Linked DNA regions of Homo sapiens: regions 1, 2, 3, 4, 6 and 7 are each linked to region 5. The links are contacts of gene promoters, found by promoter capture Hi-C in blood cells and fetal thymus (Javierre and others, 2016). All regions are on one chromosome and are shown on one strand. The core of a region is centred on a gene start or on the middle of the fragment in contact, and the rest is flanking DNA. Distances in the headings are between cores, read along the strand shown.

What was found. Contacts are between HindIII fragments. The CHiCAGO score rates a contact against its expected background, and 5 or more counts as called.
Region 1: the fragment with the promoter of CHPT1 here is called in contact with the fragment with the promoter of TMPO in region 5 in 1 of 17 cell types (neutrophils); the score reaches 5.5 in neutrophils.
Region 2: a fragment that was not itself captured here is called in contact with the fragment with the promoter of TMPO in region 5 in 2 of 17 cell types (total CD8 T cells and fetal thymus); the score reaches 15.8 in total CD8 T cells.
Region 3: a fragment that was not itself captured here is called in contact with the fragment with the promoter of TMPO in region 5 in 1 of 17 cell types (non-activated CD4 T cells); the score reaches 5.3 in non-activated CD4 T cells.
Region 4: a contact is called between a fragment that was not itself captured here and the fragment with the promoter of TMPO in region 5, in 1 of 17 cell types (non-activated CD4 T cells). The highest score is 7.8, in non-activated CD4 T cells.
Region 6: a fragment that was not itself captured here is called in contact with the fragment with the promoter of TMPO in region 5 in 1 of 17 cell types (non-activated CD4 T cells); the score reaches 5.2 in non-activated CD4 T cells.
Region 7: a fragment that was not itself captured here is called in contact with the fragment with the promoter of TMPO in region 5 in 1 of 17 cell types (activated CD4 T cells); the score reaches 7.4 in activated CD4 T cells.

What each region holds. Positions count from the first base shown.
Region 1 is chr12:101,696,305-101,699,004 of GRCh38, forward strand. CHPT1 (choline phosphotransferase 1) reads left to right here and starts at 1,336. Exons shown (of 9, transcript NM_020244.3): 1 at 1,336-1,830. The coding sequence starts at 1,558. RefSeq lists an enhancer at 810-1,059 and silencers at 1,280-1,619, 1,880-2,069. The HindIII fragment of the contact is 18,657 bases long and covers 1-2,700 here.
Region 2 is chr12:102,058,841-102,061,540 of GRCh38, forward strand. WASHC3 (WASH complex subunit 3) reads right to left here. Exons shown (of 7, transcript NM_016053.4): 2 at 2,408-2,506. Among named protein-coding and RNA genes, the nearest start is that of WASHC3, 1.8 kb to the right of the region's middle. The HindIII fragment of the contact is 3,599 bases long and covers 1-2,700 here.
Region 3 is chr12:94,455,802-94,458,501 of GRCh38, forward strand. The region is part of intron 1 of CEP83 (centrosomal protein 83); the gene reads right to left. Among named protein-coding and RNA genes, the nearest start is that of CEP83, 2.7 kb to the right of the region's middle. RefSeq lists a silencer at 1-143. The HindIII fragment of the contact is 573 bases long and covers 1,099-1,671 here.
Region 4 is chr12:94,986,351-94,989,148 of GRCh38, forward strand. All of the region lies in intron 3 of NDUFA12 (NADH:ubiquinone oxidoreductase subunit A12), which reads right to left. Among named protein-coding and RNA genes, the nearest start is that of NDUFA12, 16 kb to the right of the region's middle. The HindIII fragment of the contact is 1,580 bases long and covers 630-2,209 here.
Region 5 is chr12:98,514,340-98,517,039 of GRCh38, forward strand. TMPO (thymopoietin) reads left to right here and starts at 1,251. Exons shown (of 9, transcript NM_001032283.3): 1 at 1,251-1,807. The coding sequence starts at 1,529. TMPO-AS1 (TMPO antisense RNA 1) reads right to left here and starts at 1,887. Exons shown (of 2, transcript NR_027157.1): 1 at 1,652-1,887; 2 at 1-1,558. RefSeq lists enhancers at 871-950, 1,211-1,400 and a silencer at 1,741-2,010. The HindIII fragment of the contact is 4,246 bases long and covers 1-2,700 here.
Region 6 is chr12:101,836,036-101,838,743 of GRCh38, forward strand. It overlaps the pseudogene RNA5SP369. Among named protein-coding and RNA genes, the nearest start is that of GNPTAB, 6.4 kb to the left of the region's middle. The HindIII fragment of the contact is 4,973 bases long and covers 1-2,708 here.
Region 7 is chr12:95,071,546-95,074,245 of GRCh38, forward strand. It overlaps NR2C1 (nuclear receptor subfamily 2 group C member 1), which reads right to left and starts at 2,073. Exons shown (of 14, transcript NM_003297.4): 1 at 1,835-2,073. RefSeq lists a silencer at 1,491-1,770 and enhancers at 1,660-2,160, 1,851-2,170. The HindIII fragment of the contact is 306 bases long and covers 1,194-1,499 here.

The DNA.
Region 1 (2,700 bases), core at 86-2,585, 3.2 Mb after region 5:
TCCTGCATTTGTCAGCATCGTTTTTCACACTAAAGATGAGGAGATCCATATTCCTAAGACATATACGCTTGGTCTGTAGAGACCCTCATTGCTCTAAGGCAGTGGTTGCCAGTTTTTTCCTTAAAGGGCCTAGTAGGACATAGTCCAGGCTTTGCCAGCCATACGGTCTGTCACAACTGAATTCTGCTGCCCTTGTAGCATGAAGGCAGCCAAACAATAGGTAAGGAATAAACATGGCTTTATTCGTGGCACTGAACTTTGAATTTCATATAATTTCACAACACAAAATTGTATTCTTTTGATTTTTTCCAATCATTTAAAAATGTCAAAACCATACTTAGCTGGAGGGCTGTAGGAAAACAGGTGGTGGGCTGGGTCTGGCACACAGGCAGCAGTTCGTGGACCCCTGTGCCAAGTGTTTGACGAAGCCCGTGAGGCAAACTGCACTTGCCGATAGAGGTTGCGCCACACAAGTGTCTTGGAAGCAATTTCTGGCTTGTCCTAGGCCTTAGAAAGTGCGTGCAGATCAGAGCCATGAAGTGAAGAGCAAAGCAAGTGACAGGCCTGTCTCAGGTTGTGCAACAGAACGTGTTTATGACAGATGTCCCCTGTCCAAGTGAGTGCACTGTGAGATAAGGGGCCGGTGACCTACCAATGCGTGTGGCAAGCCAGCCTGTTCCCCCTTGCAGGGGGAGGACACTCCTGCCCTTTATTCCAGGGAAGAGTATGTGTAAAAATATTCACCCTTGTTGGTATCAAATGCGCTGAAGAAAATAGGTATCGGGGTTTCAGCCATTCGGTCTCCTTGTTAGTGTTTCTAAGCCCTGATTTTCAGTTTCAAAACCTTGGTCTCTGAATCCGCAGTGATGGGTCTCTAGAGCGAATACATGGCAGGGCCGCCTTCCTCCGTACAGAAAGGGAGAATTGTGCTTGTGTGTTTTACCAAGCAGGACAGATGGGGCCGTCACCCCCGTGACCCGAGCCCTGCAAAACTGTGTTCTCACACGAAAACCCCCAGGCTCTGCGGGCAGCGTGGTCCTGCAGTGGCTAACACTGGGCGACCGGAGTCGTGTTCCGACCCCTAGGAGAGGAACCGGCTCGGTCGTGGTGCAGCCCGCGAGGAGACGACCTCAGGGCGTAATCCGACGCCGTGGGTTAAGACATCAGACCTCAGGCGCAGTGCAGCCGGCCCCTGGGGAGTCAAGGACCTTGATCGCCGATAACAAGTTGCCGTTGGCGGGCGCCGAGGGTGACCCGCGAGCGCGGCACCCGCCTCCCCGCCCCTAGCAGGACCCCCTCCGCCCCGCCCCCAGCCGGACCCCTCCCCGAGGCCCCGCCCCACCCGCGAGCCGCAGCCGCGGCCCCACAGCTTCTGGGGCTGGGGCCCCGGCAGCCGGGCAGGCCGGCCTGACCTCGACCTCCGCCGTGCGGGCCCGACCGGTGAGTCCAGCCCGGCAGTCGCAGGACCCGGCCGCCAGCCTCTCCCTCCACCTCTCCCTGCCCCCAGCGCCAGGCGCGGGCTGCGCTCGGTGGCGGCGGCGGGGCCCTCAGGCGGCCATGGCGGCAGGCGCCGGGGCCGGGTCCGCGCCGCGCTGGCTGAGGGCGCTGAGCGAGCCGCTGAGCGCGGCGCAGCTGCGGCGACTGGAGGAGCACCGCTACAGCGCGGCGGGCGTCTCGCTGCTCGAGCCGCCGCTGCAGCTCTACTGGACCTGGCTGCTCCAGTGGATCCCGCTCTGGATGGCCCCCAACTCCATCACCCTGCTGGGGCTCGCCGTCAACGTGGTCACCACGCTCGTGCTCATCTCCTACTGTCCCACGGCCACCGAAGAGGTAGGGCTGGCCGATCGCCCGAGCCGGGCCCCAGATGCGCTGCGGGCGGGTCGCTGGAGGCGCCGGGGGAAGGGCGGACCCACGCGCGGCTGAGCCTCTCCCGGGCCCCGGAGGGGCGGACTGGCCACTGCCCCGGGCGGTGTCCGCCCTGGGCCGCCTGGAGACTGTCACGCCACTATCCCAATCCCGTGACCATCCCAAGCCTCCCCTGGGCAGCGGAGGGGCTGTTAAGGTCACTGCCCCAGGTCCTATGTCCGCGCAGATCCTCCCCACGGCCGCGGACGGGCCGGAGGGCGCCTGCCCAGCCGCTATCCCATGCGGCGCCAACCTGTGAGACGGACCCGCGGTCGGGTGCTTTGCACACTGGGGACTGAACACCCCCATCTCCGTCCTGCCTGGCACAGGGACTTGTGCCAAGCCCGAGACGCCCTTTGAATACTTTCGTAACCGTTCGTTTCTGGAAGGTTGAGCTAGTGATCTTGAAATGACCGGTAGCACTGATCAAAGATGAGTTAAGAGGTAACTTCCTCTTTGCTTCATCGACTTTTTCAAGAAAAACAAACTGGAATGTTATCAAGGCAATAATTTTTTTGTCATCACAACCTAGGGATTAAAAAAACCCCAACATTTTATTAGCAATAATTACATTTGACCTTTGTACAAAATAAGGAGTAAATATAGGCTTTGGATAGCTGTTCATCAGAAGCACCCTTTGGGCTGAGTGTGGAGGGATAGGGGGCAGAGTGGAGTTCACTCCCATCTATAGTTTATACTACGTGGGATAAATATTACATTGCACATTCTGTGACATTACTTTCTATTCTCTGCTCCAAATAGTGAAGTCCCTTTATAATCATTTGAGTGTAGGCC
Region 2 (2,700 bases), core at 201-2,700, 3.5 Mb after region 5:
ATATACACAATGGAATACTATTTAGCCTTAAAAAAGAATGAAATCCTGTCATTTGTGACAACATAAATGAACTGGAAGACATTGTGTTAAATGAAATAAGCCAGTCAAACAGAGACAGATACTGAATGATCTCACTTATATATGGAGGATAAAAAAGTACAACTCATAGAAATATTGAGTAGAATGGTGGTTAGCAGGGGCTTGGGGTTAAGAGGATTGGGGAGATGCGGTTAAAGGATACAAAATTTCAGTTAGGCAGGAGGAATAAGTTCAAGAGATCTCCTACATGTCATGGTGACTGCTGTTAATAACAATATATTGTATTGAAAATTGCTAAGAGAGGCGATTTTAAGTGTGCTCACCACAAAAAAAAGTAAGTACGTGAGGCATTGCTTATGTTAAATAGCTTGGTTTGGCCATTCCACAATGTATTCATATATCAAAACATCATGTTGTACATCATAAAAATACAATTTTTACCTGTCAATTTAAATAAAGAAATAAGATTTTTGAAAAAGGACAAAAGGCAATAGACTACCTTTAAACTTCATGAGGTTTTGATGAACAAACTTTTCTCTAGAGTTCAAAGAAGTACTAGAATACAGATACAGCCAGAACAGCTGCAGAGAAGTTGAGACAGGAACAGGAGGAGGTTAAAGAGTGACTCATGAGGCTTTGATCATAATCTATCAATAAATGAGATGACTATTGTTTTCTTTGATCTAGTTGTCAGTAAACAGCTCTCATTCAAGAACCATTAGGCACTACAAAGGTGAAGGGCTATCCCTGTTTCAGGACAGCTCAAACAAGTTGCTTTCATAGGTGTGTTTACTTGTTGCTTTGTTCTTTATTTTTCAGCTTGATGATAAGGGCTATGGGGATAAGAGTATTTGCTTCTTTCTGCTAGTAATCCTGGGACAGTCCCTTTCCAGATACTTCTCCATCTTGCCCTGGTATAAAAATCGAAGGGTGAAAACCTTGGCTTACTGGTTTTTATTCAGTCAATTTTATATCCTAAATTATTTAGAGAGATAGTAGGAACGAAATAAAACTGACTGGAAGCAAGCACCTAGTTTCTGGCCATTAACATATAAAACTAAATTGAATTAAGCCCCTTACTCTACCAATTACTATATTTTACTTTGTCTTAGAAGGCAGAAGAAATGTTGATAATTAGACAAAACAATAACTGGAATTTCATACAAGTAAAAAATAGTTTTCCCATCTCCATGCAATTTTTATTAATAGTAGTAACACACTTAACAAAAACTCTAATTGCTAAGGCTATACCTTACATAAGACAGAATGTTCAACAGACTTACTTGTGAATATCTAAGTCCCATAATTTACTTTGCTCTTTCCTTAAATGCAATTTCAACCCATGGTTCCCATTGTCTTCCCCATCCTCTTTTGGCTTTTTAAAAGACAGGGATTCCCTGGATCCTGGATCTAGTACCTAATCCTCTTTTTTAAAACAAAAACAAAAACAAAACACTGAGTTTCTCTGTTGTCCAGTCTTGTCTCAAATTCCCGGGCGCAAGTGATCCTCCTGCCTCTGCCTCCCGAGTAGCTGGGATTACAGGTGCGCACTGCTGTGCCAGTTCTGGTACCTAATCCCTAGTTGGGTACTTAATCCTTACATCACAAGTCATTTGCAGAAAATATTTTCATTTCTATAATCATATTTGATGCCAAAGTTATGTTTCTAGGCTATCTCCTCTAGCCATCTTTTAGATCCAGAATGTAAAATAAATTTAAACAATGTGGTTTTGGGGTACGGGAACGAATGACAAATTGCAAAATAAAAACTGTTTTCAACTGTGAAATTTTAGAAGCCGGGCGCGGTGGCTCACGCCTGTAATCCCAGCACTTTGGGAGGCCGAGGCTAGTGGATCGCCCAAGGTCAGGAATTCGAGACCAGCTTGATCAACATGTTGGAACCCCGTTTCTACTAAATATAAAAAATTAGCCAGGCATGGTGGCGCATGCCTGTAATCCCAGCTACTCAGGAGGCTGAGGCAGGAGAATCGCTTGAACCCGGGAGGTGGAGGTTGCAGTGAGCCGAGATCGCGCCACTGCACTGTAGCTTGGGTGACAGAGTGAGACCCTGTCTCACAAAAAAAAAAAAAAAAAAAAAAAAAATTAGATTTCCTATTGTTCCCTTTAATCGCAATAAGCCTGACTGACCTATCTCACAGGGACCTCTAGAACACTAACTCAGTAGAGGAGGGGTGCAGGATTGATTTTAACAGAGTAAAAGAGAACCTAAGATGTGTTAACACAATTGGGTGATGAGAGGTCACGGTACATGAATAAAGACTGTAATTCTTGTTTTACTCCATTTGTCAGTCTCAGCAGTGAAAGGTGATTTCCAGGCGACTCTATAAACCAGTATCACCGGACCTACCTCCTCACAAACTGTAGAAAAGCGGTTGAGGAACTGTACAGTGTGCACCACAAATTGGTTTAGAAAAGCCACCGTTCTTTTCTGTTGAATAGCTGGCACCTGTGTTACGTAAAAACAAACATGGTTCATACAGGAGGAACGTACACAGTGCAAATCTTTTCATATTTGGACATAATCACGAGGCACTTTGCTGTGTGATATGAATTTCTTGAAGGACTGGGAATAGTCATTAACTTGTTTCCTAAGCTGTGGGTGGGGTGTCCGAAGATGACAGAGGTGCACAAAAGTTTGAG
Region 3 (2,700 bases), core at 135-2,634, 4.1 Mb before region 5:
TGGGAGGCCAAGGTGGGTGAATCACTTGAGGCCAGGAGTTCCGAGACCAGCCTGGCCAATGTGGTGAAACCCTGTCTCTATTCAAAATACAAAAAAAAAGCCAGGTGTGGTGGCATGCACCTGTTAGCCCCAGCCACTTGGGAGGCTGAGGCAGGAGAATCACGTGAACCCACGAGTTCAAGGTTGCAGTGAACAAAGATTGCACCACTACGCTCCAGCCTGGGCGACAGAGCAAAACTCCATCTCAAAAAAAAAAAAAAGAAAAAAGAAATAGTACTAGACTTGACAGTCAGTGATCTCTCCATGACCTAGAGAGGGCAGTCCTGATGAAAAAAATATAATTAATAAACTGATATTCTACTAGGAACCAGGAAATTGACCAAACTCCCCAAGCCCACTGAAGAATAGTGCCAGCATTCCTGAGAGTCCTTACTGCTGGTATTGCCATGGGAAATTCTCAAATACTCACTTTCTAGGAACAGAATCTTTATTTCTGATTCCGTGAATTCCCACTCTTCAATCTTTTTTATAGTTTACTGTTGCCATTTCCCCTTCACTTACTCTCTTCTCTCAACAACCTTACTTTCATGATACTTACAAAAGTGGGGGAAAGTAGAAATGCCTATCTGTCATTGTATTAGTCCATTTTCATATTGCTATAAAGAACTGCCTGAGATTGGGTAATTTATAAAGGAAAGAGGTTTAATTGATTCACAGTTCCACATGGCTGGAGAGGCGTCAGAAAACTTACAATCATGGCAGAAGGTGAAGGGGAAGCAAGGCACCTTCTTCACAAGGTAGCAGGAAGGAGAATGAATGCAGGAGGAACTACCAAACACTTATAAAACCACCAGATCTCATGAGAACTCACTGTCACGAGGAACAGTATGGGGGAAACCGCCGCCATGATCCAATTCCCTCCACCTGGTCTCTTCCCTGACACATGGGGATTATGGGGATTATAATTCAAGGTGAGATTTGGGTGGGGACACAAAGCCTAATCATATCAGTCATCTTTAAGAAACATTTATTCAGCAACTTGTATTTGGAAAAGACTAAGGATACAGCTCATCGAGATCTGAAGTCCTGCCCTTAATAAGCTTACAATCTAGTTAGGAAGTCAAGAAAGCTAAAATAATACAATAAAAAGTATAAGTATCAAATAAATTTAACTCACAAATACATACTATTCCTATGTATGTATGTATGAGGTCATGGTGGAGTTGAACCTTATAGAAAAGGTACAATTTAGATTTTAAGAAAGAAGGGAATAAGATCAGGTCACGGGGGATAGAAAGATATGCAGACTAATATGGAAAGGATAAAGTACAGAGCAGGTTTAGGGGATAGTGAAGAAACCAATCTGGGCAGAGACACCTTTTCCATAAAGAACATACACTTGAAAAGGCAAGGTGAGAGGATTTCAAATAATTCACCTTAAGTCAAGAAACATGAACTTGGGTTAAAAGGAAGTTTTTTACACAGATTTACACACATTCCCTAAAAGCACATAGGTTAAACAATGTGGGCAATTTACTTATGGAACCTAATATGTATGACAAAATTAAAAGCAAGCTCATCTACTTTTAGGCAAAGAGACAGTACCTGGGGGTGGGGAAATTCTGACAATTCACTAAAATTCACTAATCTTTCTGTTAAGATTTCACTCTAAGCTTCTTGAATTAGAACATCCCATGACATAATGCTGATTTCTGATTACTAAGGATTATACGAGTCATTCTTGATTTGTCTCCTCCATCTTGCCCAACTTTTGAATATTTCATTACTTCAACATCAGCATATAGAAAAAAGGAGGAGAGAACTAAAATTAAGTCCATGGATTTTAGCAATACATAAGGGTATCTGACATAAAGAACATTAAACTTCAAGTTCCAATTCCCATTATTAATAGATTTCAAAGAAGTCATTTAGTCTCATCATGTCTCAAATTTTCTCACATACTTGCTTACTTGAAAGGTTATTGATTGAAAAGATCATTCAAAAAGTGCTCTAAAAACTAACAACTTGCCATAAAAATTTTATCATTAAGGGTTCAATAAGAGGAGACAGTGAGGTGACTGGTAAACCAAGGATTAAAAACTACCTGTGAATAGGCCAGGCACGCTGGCTCACACCTGTAATCCCAGCACTTTGGGAGGTCAAGGTGGGCAGATCGCCTGAAGTCAGGAGTTCGTGACCAGCCTGGGCAATATGGTGAAACCCCATCTCTACTAAAAATACAAAAATTAGCAGGGCATGGTGGCATGCACCTGTAACCCCAGCTACTCGGGAGGCTGAGAGGAGAGAATCACTTGAAACTGGGAGGCGGAAGTTGCAGTGAGCTGAGATCCCACCACTGCACTCCAGCCTGAGCGACAAGAATGAAACTCTGTCTCAAAAAAAGAAAAAAAAAAAAACTACCTGTGAATAATCAGTGTTTCATTCTCCCAGTGCTGCATGGAATTCTAAATTGTATTTCACTATTATTTGAGAATGTTCTAAATACAGTCCGCGCACTTCATCTGATCTGGAAAGAAAACACTCAAAGTAAGGGGAATACCCAGCATACTCTGTCCTAAATAACCAAAGGACAACTCAAAACCATTTGCAACTCTCAGGAGAGTCCTGTGTGACACTTATAATTTAAAGCATTCTGGCCTGGTGCGGTGGCTCACACCTGTAATCCCAGCACTTTGGGAG
Region 4 (2,798 bases), core at 170-2,669, 3.5 Mb before region 5:
TTAGGAGGACTAAGCTTTAGTGCTCTACTGCACAGAATGGTGACTGTAATAAATAATAATTCACTGTATATTTGGAAATTGCTAAAATAATTTTAAGTGTTTTTACCACAAAAAAATGATAAGTATGTGAGGTAATTGATTTACTAATTGGCTTGATTTAATCATTCCACAATGTAAACATGTATCAAAACATCATATTGTACCCCACAAATATATACAATTATTATTTGTCAATTAAAAATAAAATTTTAGCCTGGGCAACACTGTGAGACCCCTATCTCCTAAAAAAAAACCAGCAGGTTGTGGTGATGCACCCCTGTAGTCCCAGCTACTTGGGAGGCTGAGGCAGGAGGATGGCTTAAGCCCAGGAGGTTGAGGCTGGAGTGAGCTGTGAAAGCACCAGTGCACTCAGCCTGGGCGACAGAGTGAGACCCTATCTCAAATAAAATATTTTTAAAAACTGAGAACCCCTCCCCTCTAAAAACCTCCAAAGAACTCCAAATGCAGCTTGAATGGGTTCCAACTAGTCAAATTGAGCCCAATTTGAACAATAAAAGAACCATTTAAAGCAATGGATTATAACCCATTGATTAAAATAGGAGTTGATACAGATACAAATAATGAATTAAAGCTTTGATGAGTAAGGGGATACTTACATAACCTCAAAGTGTCTCCCCACAAAATGCTAATTAATTTCAAAGGGAAAATTAGTAACTTTAGAATGGAGAAAACCGGCAGACCCCTTAATCACGTGATAGAGGTTTTCATTAATAATAGGACAAAAACAAATCAGCTGCTACTTAATAGAGTGCAACAAGAAAAACATGGCTTCAGTGACAGGAATGTCACAGAAGCATAGCCTGAACCTAGTCATGAGGAAACATTCAACAAACTCACTGAGGGACCTTCAACAATATAACTGTCAAGTAATTTTCAAAAGCGTCAAGGTCATGAAAATCACAGAAAAGTTGAGGAACCAATCAAGTGTGAAGGAGACTAAAGAACTTGAGATCCATATGAAATGTGTGATTGGATCTCTCTATAAAGGACACTGTTGGGACAACTGACGAAACCTGAGTGGCTGAAGTTCAGAACACGCTGCTCCAAAATATGCAGCTCTGGCATATGGACTATGCTGAGTTAAAGGCACTTGAACAACAGCAGGCACGGCTGGGTGTGGTGGCTCATGCCTGTAATCTCAGCACTTTGGGAGGCCAAGGTAGGCAGATCACTTGAGGCCAGGAGTTCAAGACCAGCCTGGCCAACATGATGAAACCCCGTCTCTACTTAAAATACAAAAATTCGCCAGGTGTAGTGGCACATGCCTGTAATCCCACCTACTTGGGAGGCTGAGATAGGAGGATCATTTGAGCCCAGGAGGTCGAGGCTGCAGACTGTACCACTGCACTCCAGCCTGGGTGACAGGGCAGGACATTGTCTCAAAAAAAAAAAAAAAAAAAAAAAAAGGTAAAGAAAAACAGCAGGCACAAGAATAATATGGCCTTTTTCTTTCTGAAAGCAGGAGAAAAAATTCCCACATCAAAGATATCCTCCCTATACCAGAAGGAAACTATCATTCTACATCAAGGACAGGAAATTGAGGTCAAGGGAAATCTGCACAAACGTTGTTAAATTAACTTTTATCTTCTTAGTCACTTCTCCACCCAATTAACCTACTCAAGCCCAAGTCCCTTTGTCTTCTCATTTTCAGTGTTCTACTCCTTGTCCAATTCAGTATCTAAGTGTTCAACATGAACTGCATCTTTGGGTCTTCATCCCTTATGAGGGCTCCACATCACGGAACTCTTATATTAAATAAATTTGTATGCTTTTCTCCTGTTAACATGTCTTTAATTCTCAAGCCCAACCAAAAAGCCCTAAGAGGATAAGGGTAAAATTTTGCCTCCCTTTCATAGTGTATCTTTGTTACTTTCCTGATATTTATGGTCATATTGTGGTTATGTAGGACAATGTTCTTGTTTGCAAGACGTACACACTAAAGTATTCAGGAGTGATGGGGCATCAATTTGGCAACTTACTTTTATTAAAATATTAGTAATGATTCTGAAAGTTCGGGATTATTCCAAATGTTAAAAAACTGTAAATCAGATCACACCCTATCTTACCTTCCAGTGACTTCCAAATAAATTCAGACAAAAAGCCGAAGTATGTACCATGGCTTACTGAAAGATTCTCCCTGAGGCCTGAAAGCTTGAAGAGATGAATAACTCCTCCCTTCTCAGGCCCAGTCCCAAGCTTGGGCCAGCAGCGTGGGTCAGCAAGACAGCAGAAGCAGGAAGAGAGCTGGCCGAAAGACACATACCCCCTTGAAGATTGAGGGGCAGGCCGTCCAGGTACTATGTAGCAGTTACATCAGACTGAGACACTTCCTGTTTACAGGAGACTATAAAACCCCTGCCCCATCCTCATTTGGTGCTAACGCCATTTTAGGCATCAGCCCACCTGCACCCAGGCGCTCATTAAAACAGTGTGTTGCTCCACACTGCCATGTTGTCTGCTGATGCACTCTCAGGGTTCGAGCCGATACAAGAACCTTTCATCTTACAACATCTACATGATTTGGGCCCTAGCTATTTCTCCTACCTCGTTTCTTAACATCTTCCCCTCACTCATTCCATTCCAGCCAAACTGGCCATACTGCTGTTCTTTGAACAGACCAAGCAATACATCTCAAACATACAGGCTTTGCACCTGTGGTTCCCTCTGCCTGGAACGCTTTCTCCCCGCTTCTACGTCTTTCCTCAAATGTCACTTTCTCAAAGAAGCTTTCTCTAACT
Region 5 (2,700 bases), core at 1-2,500:
GAAAATAATTATCACTAAAAGAAATAATATCGCAATTTGAATAAAAGTAAGTCGCTTAAATCATAGGAAACATTTTTAGTGAAGGCGTTTGTTTTAAATGTATTCTAACCTAGCAATGTAGAAAGCAGGCAAACATTTAAAAAAAATTTAACCAGTTTCTAAAACATAGTTTGGAGCTCAGATTCTGGGGAAATGATTAACACACCCTACATCCAAGGTCTCCTTTCCTTTCTAGAAAGAAAGCATCTTTAAACATACATATTCATCAGAAATACAAATATTTGTCATCAGTGATACTAATTTCCAGGCAAACATTTTAATTGCAGTCAATGTATTAGATTCTACCAGGTTTTAATTTGGATCGGTAATACGGGTTTGATTAGGGTTCTAGGCCTAATTATAGGTCACTAGTCTTCCTTTAGGATTATGCACCATCTGTTATTTTAAATTGACCATTGAGGGGGTTCCCAAGGGTTCTCCTTCGTTTTGTTATCAAACGTTAGGTTTAGGATTCTTGCGGGTGGTGGGATCCAAAGCCAGAGACGGTTTCAACAAAAATGCAAGCGCGAATTTGTCTTGCGTCTGAACGCACTGTTCAAATTAAACAATTTAGACATGCCCCAACTATGACACTAAGAAGTGAATGGTATAGTACACTTTTGTCACAAATTCAAGGGTAATTTAAGTGCCCGATTGTAGAGGTCTGGCTTCCCCTGGGTTTCTGGAACAAAAGAAGCGTTCGCGAGGAGAGGGGTAACTCCCCGCCCTCCCCCTCCCAAAGTAAATCAAATCAAGGAATATGAGTGCCTGCAGACAAGCCTCGCTTCTTTTCTTCCCCTTCAGGGCTAGCGTTTGGGGAAGGCAAGGCTGCGGCTACTCTTGGAGCTTCAGTGTCCCGGGAGGAAGAAAGGCCCAGCCAAGGGTCCTCACACTGGCGTGGAATTCGGCGCGTTCGTAGGCGATCGACCCCAGAGACGAAAGCTGCTTCTCAAGCTGGGGGAGGGAGAGGAAACGGCGCACAAAAGCAGTACGACCTGTCCCTTATCGGCGTCTAAGGGGAAGGGTGGAGAAAACGAAAACAGAAGCGGGCCGGGAGCCTCGGCTCCCGCCCCAGCGCCTTTTAAACTGCGTTTCTACCTCCTCTCGCTCAGCGCGGCGGCTAATGGAACCCGCGCGAGCCGTCTCGCCAATCACCGCCGCGCTTCCTCCCGTCGCCCGCCAATGGCGGCGCGCGTTCTTGGGGCGTGGGCGAAGCAGGCTGCTCGCCTCCTGCCTGTAGTGTGTGGGCTGGGGTTGGTGCGAGCTTCCAGCTTGGCCGCAGTTGGTTCGTAGTTCGGCTCTGGGGTCTTTTGTGTCCGGGTCTGGCTTGGCTTTGTGTCCGCGAGTTTTTGTTCCGCTCCGCAGCGCTCTTCCCGGGCAGGAGCCGTGAGGCTCGGAGGCGGCAGCGCGGTCCCCGGCCAGGAGCAAGCGCGCCGGCGTGAGCGGCGGCGGCAAAGGCTGTGGGGAGGGGGCTTCGCAGATCCCCGAGATGCCGGAGTTCCTGGAAGACCCCTCGGTCCTGACAAAAGACAAGTTGAAGAGTGAGTTGGTCGCCAACAATGTGACGCTGCCGGCCGGGGAGCAGCGCAAAGACGTGTACGTCCAGCTCTACCTGCAGCACCTCACGGCTCGCAACCGGCCGCCGCTCCCCGCCGGCACCAACAGCAAGGGGCCCCCGGACTTCTCCAGTGACGAAGAGCGCGAGCCCACCCCGGTCCTCGGCTCTGGGGCCGCCGCCGCGGGCCGGAGCCGAGCAGCCGTCGGCAGGGTAAGGACGCGGGGCCGGGGCTACAAAGGCGGGCGTTTGGCGGTTGCCGCGCGCGCTCGCCGCCGTTTGCAGCCCCTCCCTCCCGGGCGCCCCCTCGGGCCTCCCAGGTGCGGGGCTGTCCCTGCGCCCCCTCGCGTCGCCCCTTCCCCGCGGGGCTGCAGGCGCCGGAGCGGAGAGGCCAGAAGTTGGGGCCGCGGGGTTCGCGTTCTTTGACGTGTGGGTCTGGGAGGTGTGGAGTTGCGTTGGCGGCGGTTGTTTTGCACGCAGTCGACGCCGCTTCCCTGGACCACCAGCCGCCTGCAGCGGGCGTTTAGACGGGGACTTCCGTGCCCTTTCGAAAGCTCTGGAGGGGTGGCCCCAAAATGCTATAGGTTAAGTTCGAGCGTTTTCCCGCTTTATTAACTGAAATGACTCGCAGCAGAGTCTCAGAGCGCTCCCTGGAGGGCAACTGATGACACTCTAATTTCTAACCAAAATTTGAAATGAGGAAATTCCCGCCTTTTTATACTTTTGCGTGTGGAGGGCTTTTTGAACCGTTTATGTTTTCTAGTTTGTTTTAATTTTTCCCAGCAACAGGCCATCTTTTGGCGGAACAGGTTCATGCCGAATTAAAAGGAGCATTTTAAACTATATTTTTAGGCGCCTATTATAATTTTTTAGTTTTTATTTATTTATTTTTTTAGATGGAGTGTCGCACTTGTTGCCCAGGCTGGAGTGCAATGGCGAGATCTCGGCTCACCGCAACCTCCACCTCCCGGGTTCAAGCGATTCTCCTGCCTCAGCCTCCCGAGTAGCTGGGATTACAGGCATGCGCCGCCACGCCCGGCTGATTTGTGTATTTTTTAGTAGAGACGGGGTTTCTCCAAGTTGGTCAGGCTGGTCTCGAACTCCTG
Region 6 (2,708 bases), core at 187-2,686, 3.3 Mb after region 5:
ATAAAAAAGAATGAAATTATGTCCTTTGCAGCAACATGAATGGAGCTGGGTGCTATTATCCTAAGTGAACTAACTCAGAAACAGAAAATCAAATGCTGCATGTTCTCATTTATAAGTGGGAGCTAAACAACGGGTACACATGGGCATAAAAATGGCAATATTAATAATTAAAACCAGGGACTCCAAAAAAGGTGACAGTTGGGGGGTGATGAGATTTGAAAAATTACCTGTCAGGTACAGTGTTCACTATTTGGGTAATGGGTACACTAGAAGCTCAATCTTTACTAGTATTCAGTATACCCATTTAACAAACATGCATGTGTATCCCTTCAATCTGGAATAAAATTAAATACATTTTAAAAAGAAAGTGAGGATGGCTTTTAATTTTTGCAAACTAGTGCAAACAAAATTATTAAGTAATTTAACTGTTTCTGATAGAATTTCCTTTTCTTTTTTTTTTTTTTCTTTTTTTTTTTGAGATGGAGTCTCACTCTGATGCCCAGGCAGGAGTGCTTTGGCATGGTCTCTGCTCATTGCAACCTCCGCCTCCTTGGTTCAAGTGACTCTCCTGCCTCAGCTTCCCAAGTGTCTGGGATTACAAGCACCTGCCACCATGCCTGGCTAATTTTTGTATTTTTAGTAGAAATGGGGTTTCACCATGTTGGCCAGGCTGGTCTCAAACTTCTGGCTTCAGGTAATCCGCCTGCCTCGGCCTCCCAAAGTGCTGGGATTACAGGCATGAGCCACCGCAGCCAGCCTCTGACAGAATTTCAAGAGCCAAATCTATGGCCATACCACCCTGAAGGCGCCCAATTTCATCTGATCTCCTTAAAGCTAAGCAGGTTTGGGCCTGGTTAGTACTTGGATGGAAGAATTTCAAGAGCCAAAACATAACATGGCTCACTGTTAACTTTTTTGTGAGTTCAAACACATCACATATATATAAAATACCTAATTTTCACATAAATGTAACCATACTTTGTCCTTTTTTTTTTTTTTTTTTTTTTTTTGAGATGAAGCCTCGCCCTGTTACCCAGGCTGGAGTGCAATGGCACAATCTTGGCTCACTGCAACCTCTACCTCCCACGTTCAAGCAATTCTCCTGCCTCAGCCTCCCAAGTAGCTGAGATTACAGGAATGTGCCACCACGCCCAGTTAATTTAGTATTTTTAGTAGAAATGGGGTTTTACCATGTTAGCCAGGCTGGTCTCAAACTCTCGACCTCAGATGATCCGCCCACCTTGGCCTCCCAAAATCCTAGGATTACAGGCATAAGCCACCGCACCAGGCCCAACCATACTTTATTCTGTTTATGTGATATTTACTTGTGGGTTTTTTTGTACATTTCATCCACTGGAATATAAGCAACATAAAGGCAAGAGACTTACCCATCTTATCCAGAAATGTATCCCTAATCTTAGCATTGTGTCTTGCCAATAGAAACTAATTGATAAAAATTTATTACATGAATTAATATATTTTGCACTGATAAAAGTACCAACCATTGGCTGAGGTGGCTCACACCTGTAATGCCTGCACTTTGGTAGGCCAAGGAGGGTGGATCACTTGAGCCCAGGAGTTCGAAACCAGCCTGGCCAACATGGCGAAACCACATTTCTACTAAAAATACAAAAATTAGCCAGGTGTGATGGTGTATGCTTGTAATCTCAGCTATGTGGGAGACTGAAGCAGGAGAATTGCTTGAGCCTGGGAGGCAGAGATTGCAGCGAGCCGAGATTGCGCCACTGCACTCCAGCCTGGGCGACAGAGAGGGACTCTGTTTCAAAAAAAAAAAAGTTCCAATCACAGAGTTGTATAAAGTTTTGATGAATTGAATTACAGTGTGTTATTAAAGGATATAGAGAATAACCCTATGTTTTGAGGTAGAGCTCATTTGGAAAACTTTCTAGCTTGGGATCATTTTTATATAGTGGAATATACTAATGTCAACTTGGTTTTAAAACCTCTGTTATTTCTATCATTATTGACTCTGGTTGTTTGTTTGCTTCATTTTGTCTACTACTTCTTTGTATCTTTTCTCCCTTTGCCTAAATAACCTTTTCTTTTTTTAGAGACAGGGTCTCTCTGTCACCCTGGCTGGAGTGCAGTGATACCATCTTGGCTTACTGCAGCCTCGACCTCCTGGGCTCAAGCGATCCTCCCACTGCAGCCCCTGGAGTAGCTGGGATTACAGGTGTGCACCAATATGCCTGGCTAATTTTTGTATTTTTTGTAGAGATGGGTTTTCGCCATGTTGTCCAGGCTGGTCTTGAACTCCTGAGCTCAGGCAATCCACCCATCTCGGCCTCCCAGAGTGCTGGGATTACAGGCATGAGCCATTGTGCCCAGCCTAAATAATCTTTTCAAAAACCAGCTTCTGCCAGGCACGGTGGCTCACAATGGAATCTGGAAAAGAAGGCTGGCCCAGTAGTCCCAGAACCTTGGGACACCAAGGCAGGAGGATTGCTTGAGGTCATGAGTTCAAGACCAGCCTGGGAAATATATCGAGATGCCCTGTCTCTACTAAAAATACAAAAAATGTGCTGGGCATGGTGGTGTGCGCCTGTAGTCCCAGCTACTCAGGAGGCTGAGGCGGAAGAATCACCTGAACCTGGGAGGCAGAGGTTGCAGTGAGCTGAGATTGCACCACTGCATTCCAGCCTGGGCAACAGAGTGAGACTCCGTCTCCAAAAAAAAAAAAAAAAAAG
Region 7 (2,700 bases), core at 97-2,596, 3.4 Mb before region 5:
CAAAATCCTTCCTTAAGATGCGGTGCCTGTAATTCCAGCTACTCAACAGGCTGAGGCAGGAGGATAGCTTGAGGCCAGAGATCTGTCTGGATAACAAAATGAGGCCCCCCACCATTTCTATAAAACAAAACAAAAAAACCTTTCCTAGAAGAAACTAACATGCCCCTTGAAAAACTAAGATTAGCAACATTTCATAAAACCCACTTTTTTTTTTTTTTTTGAGACGGAGTTTCGCTCTTCTTGCCCAGGCTGGAGTGCAATGGCGCGATCTCAGCTCACTGCAACCTCCGCCTCCCGGGTTCAAGCAATTCTCCTGCCTCGGCCTCCGGAGTTGCTGGGATTACAGGTGTGCGCCACCACGCCCGACTAATTTTGTATTTTTAGTAGAAACGGGGTTTCTCCATGTTGGTCAGGCTGGTCTCGAACTCCCGACTTCAGATGATCCGCCCACCTCAGCCTCCCAAAGTGCTGGGATTACAGGTGTGAGCCACCGCGCCCAGCCGCGACCCACTTTTAATGATAGAAATACACATCGCTTTTTCAGATATACTAACTGGACTTAAAGCAAAGTTTAAAAACAATCATCGGCCGGGCGCGGTGGCTCACGCCTGTAATCCCAGTACTTTGGGAGGCCGAGGCGGGTGGATCAGAGGCGGGTACATCACGAGGTCAGAGTATCAAGACCATCCTGGCCAACATAGTGAAACCCCACCTCTACTAAAAATACAAAAAACAAAAACAAAAACAAAAACAAAAAAACTAGCTGGGTGTGGTGGCTCGTGTCTGTAATCCCAGCTACTCGGGAGGCTGAGACAGGAGAATCGCTTGAACCTGGAGGCGGAGGTTGCAGTGAGCCGAGATCGCGCCACCGCACTCCAGCTTGGCGACAGTGAGACTCCCTCTCCCTCTCAAAAAAAAAAAAAAAAAAAGAAAAAAAAATCGAGTATCACCAACCACACAGCAGAAATGGTTCAAAAAAGCTCAAAATCGAAGGTCCATTTACAAATTCTAGCGGTACTAAACCCTAAAGGCCGTAATTTTAGGTCTTTCTGCTTTTGCTTTCCGGTTACTTTTTTAAAGGCTGACCTACTTACTGAAGATTATGGGACAACCTGGCAACATTCGTACTGCACAAAAATGGTATCTGCCCGAGTTGGAAGAATTATTTCTTAACAAAAGAGCTATCTATCGGAAGCTTGGACATGCCCCCTGCAGTGAGAACCCTGGGGCCGTTCCATTTCTTCTGAAAAGATCCAGGCCCACAGGCAGCGACGACCCTGGCCAGATTTGCCGTGAGAGAAAAGTGAAAGTGGGGGGAGTCATTCTGTCCGTCCCGTGAAAGCACGGGAGTTAGTGACGGGATGCAGGCCGGGACTTGCGGCCACTAGCCGAGGGTCGGCCTCTCCCACGTCTCACTCGTGCCGGCGTTAGCCGTGCGCCCTGGAAGCCCCGGCGCTGCGCGCGGCTCTCCCGGGCGGGGAAAGCTGCAGCGCCGCGGAAGCTTTCCCTGCAGGTTAAAGGTCAGAGGCGCTGCGGTAAGCGCAGCTGGAAAGGGGGTTGTGTGCTCCAAGCCGCTCGCCGTCCGGCCCCGCGTCCCGCCGCCCCTGTCGCCCCCGCCTCTCCCGGGGCCCCGCGCATTTGGCGCCGCAGCTCCGCGCTCCCAGCCGAAGTCGAGCAGCCCCAAGCGGCGCTCCCAAACTGAACGGCTCCGCTGGCCGCAGGACGCCGGCCGGGGGATGCGCTGGGACCGCGTCCGTTGGCGGTTGGGGTGAAGGGCACCCCCTGGCCCCCGCCCCCGACGCGGTCGCTGGTGTCCCCACCCAGCGTTTCTTACCGGCGCTTTTGCGCCCTGCTGACTCCGGCGTCGGGCGCCGACGCGACAGTCCCGCGGCTGCCACTCGTGGATTGGGGGGCGCTCCGGGAAGAGAGGTTGAAGAAAGCCGACGGGATGTGGGATCGAGATTCACGGCGGAGAGAGCTTTCTGTGTTTGGGTATTTCTGGGGGGTCAGAGTTCGTGACCTCTTTCTCGGCTCGGCGGCGCGCTATCCCGCCAGCGCCTGCGCATTAGCAACGGGGAGAAGCGGCGAGAGGAGGTCGTGACGTTCCCAGGGTGGGGTGGAGGGATCGGAGGGCCGAGCAGCGGCTCTGTGAGTCCACTGCCCCCTTTTGGCTTGGAGGCAGAGTGCCCCGCCAGAGCTACGCGTTCCCAGCCAGGTAATTTTTGAAGCCACGTGCAAAGGTTTAAGCATCGTTTGCCAAAGGTGGGCATTAGGGGAGGTTTTGAGTCAACGTTTTAGATTTGAGTAATAAATAACCCTCTGGGTCTTAGGCATATCTGTTTCTAATTTCTGGAAAACTGGGCTCTGGGGTAGAGTCCAATCATATTTAAACTTTTTTTTTTTTGTATTACACTTTAAGTTCTAGAGTACATGTACACAACGTGCAGGTTCGTTACATATGTATACATGTGCCATGTTGGTGTGCTGCACCCATTAACTCGTCATTTACATTAGTAAGCTTTATATATAATGACAAGCTGAGGCCGACTCATGCAAATGGTAAGGCAAAGTTTCACTTATAAACTGTTGTGAGTAAAGAGACATAATGGCTAAACAGGGCAAGAATATAATCACTAGAGACTGGGCACGGTAGCTCACGCCTGTAATCCCAGCAAGTTGGGAGGCCGAGGCGGACGGATC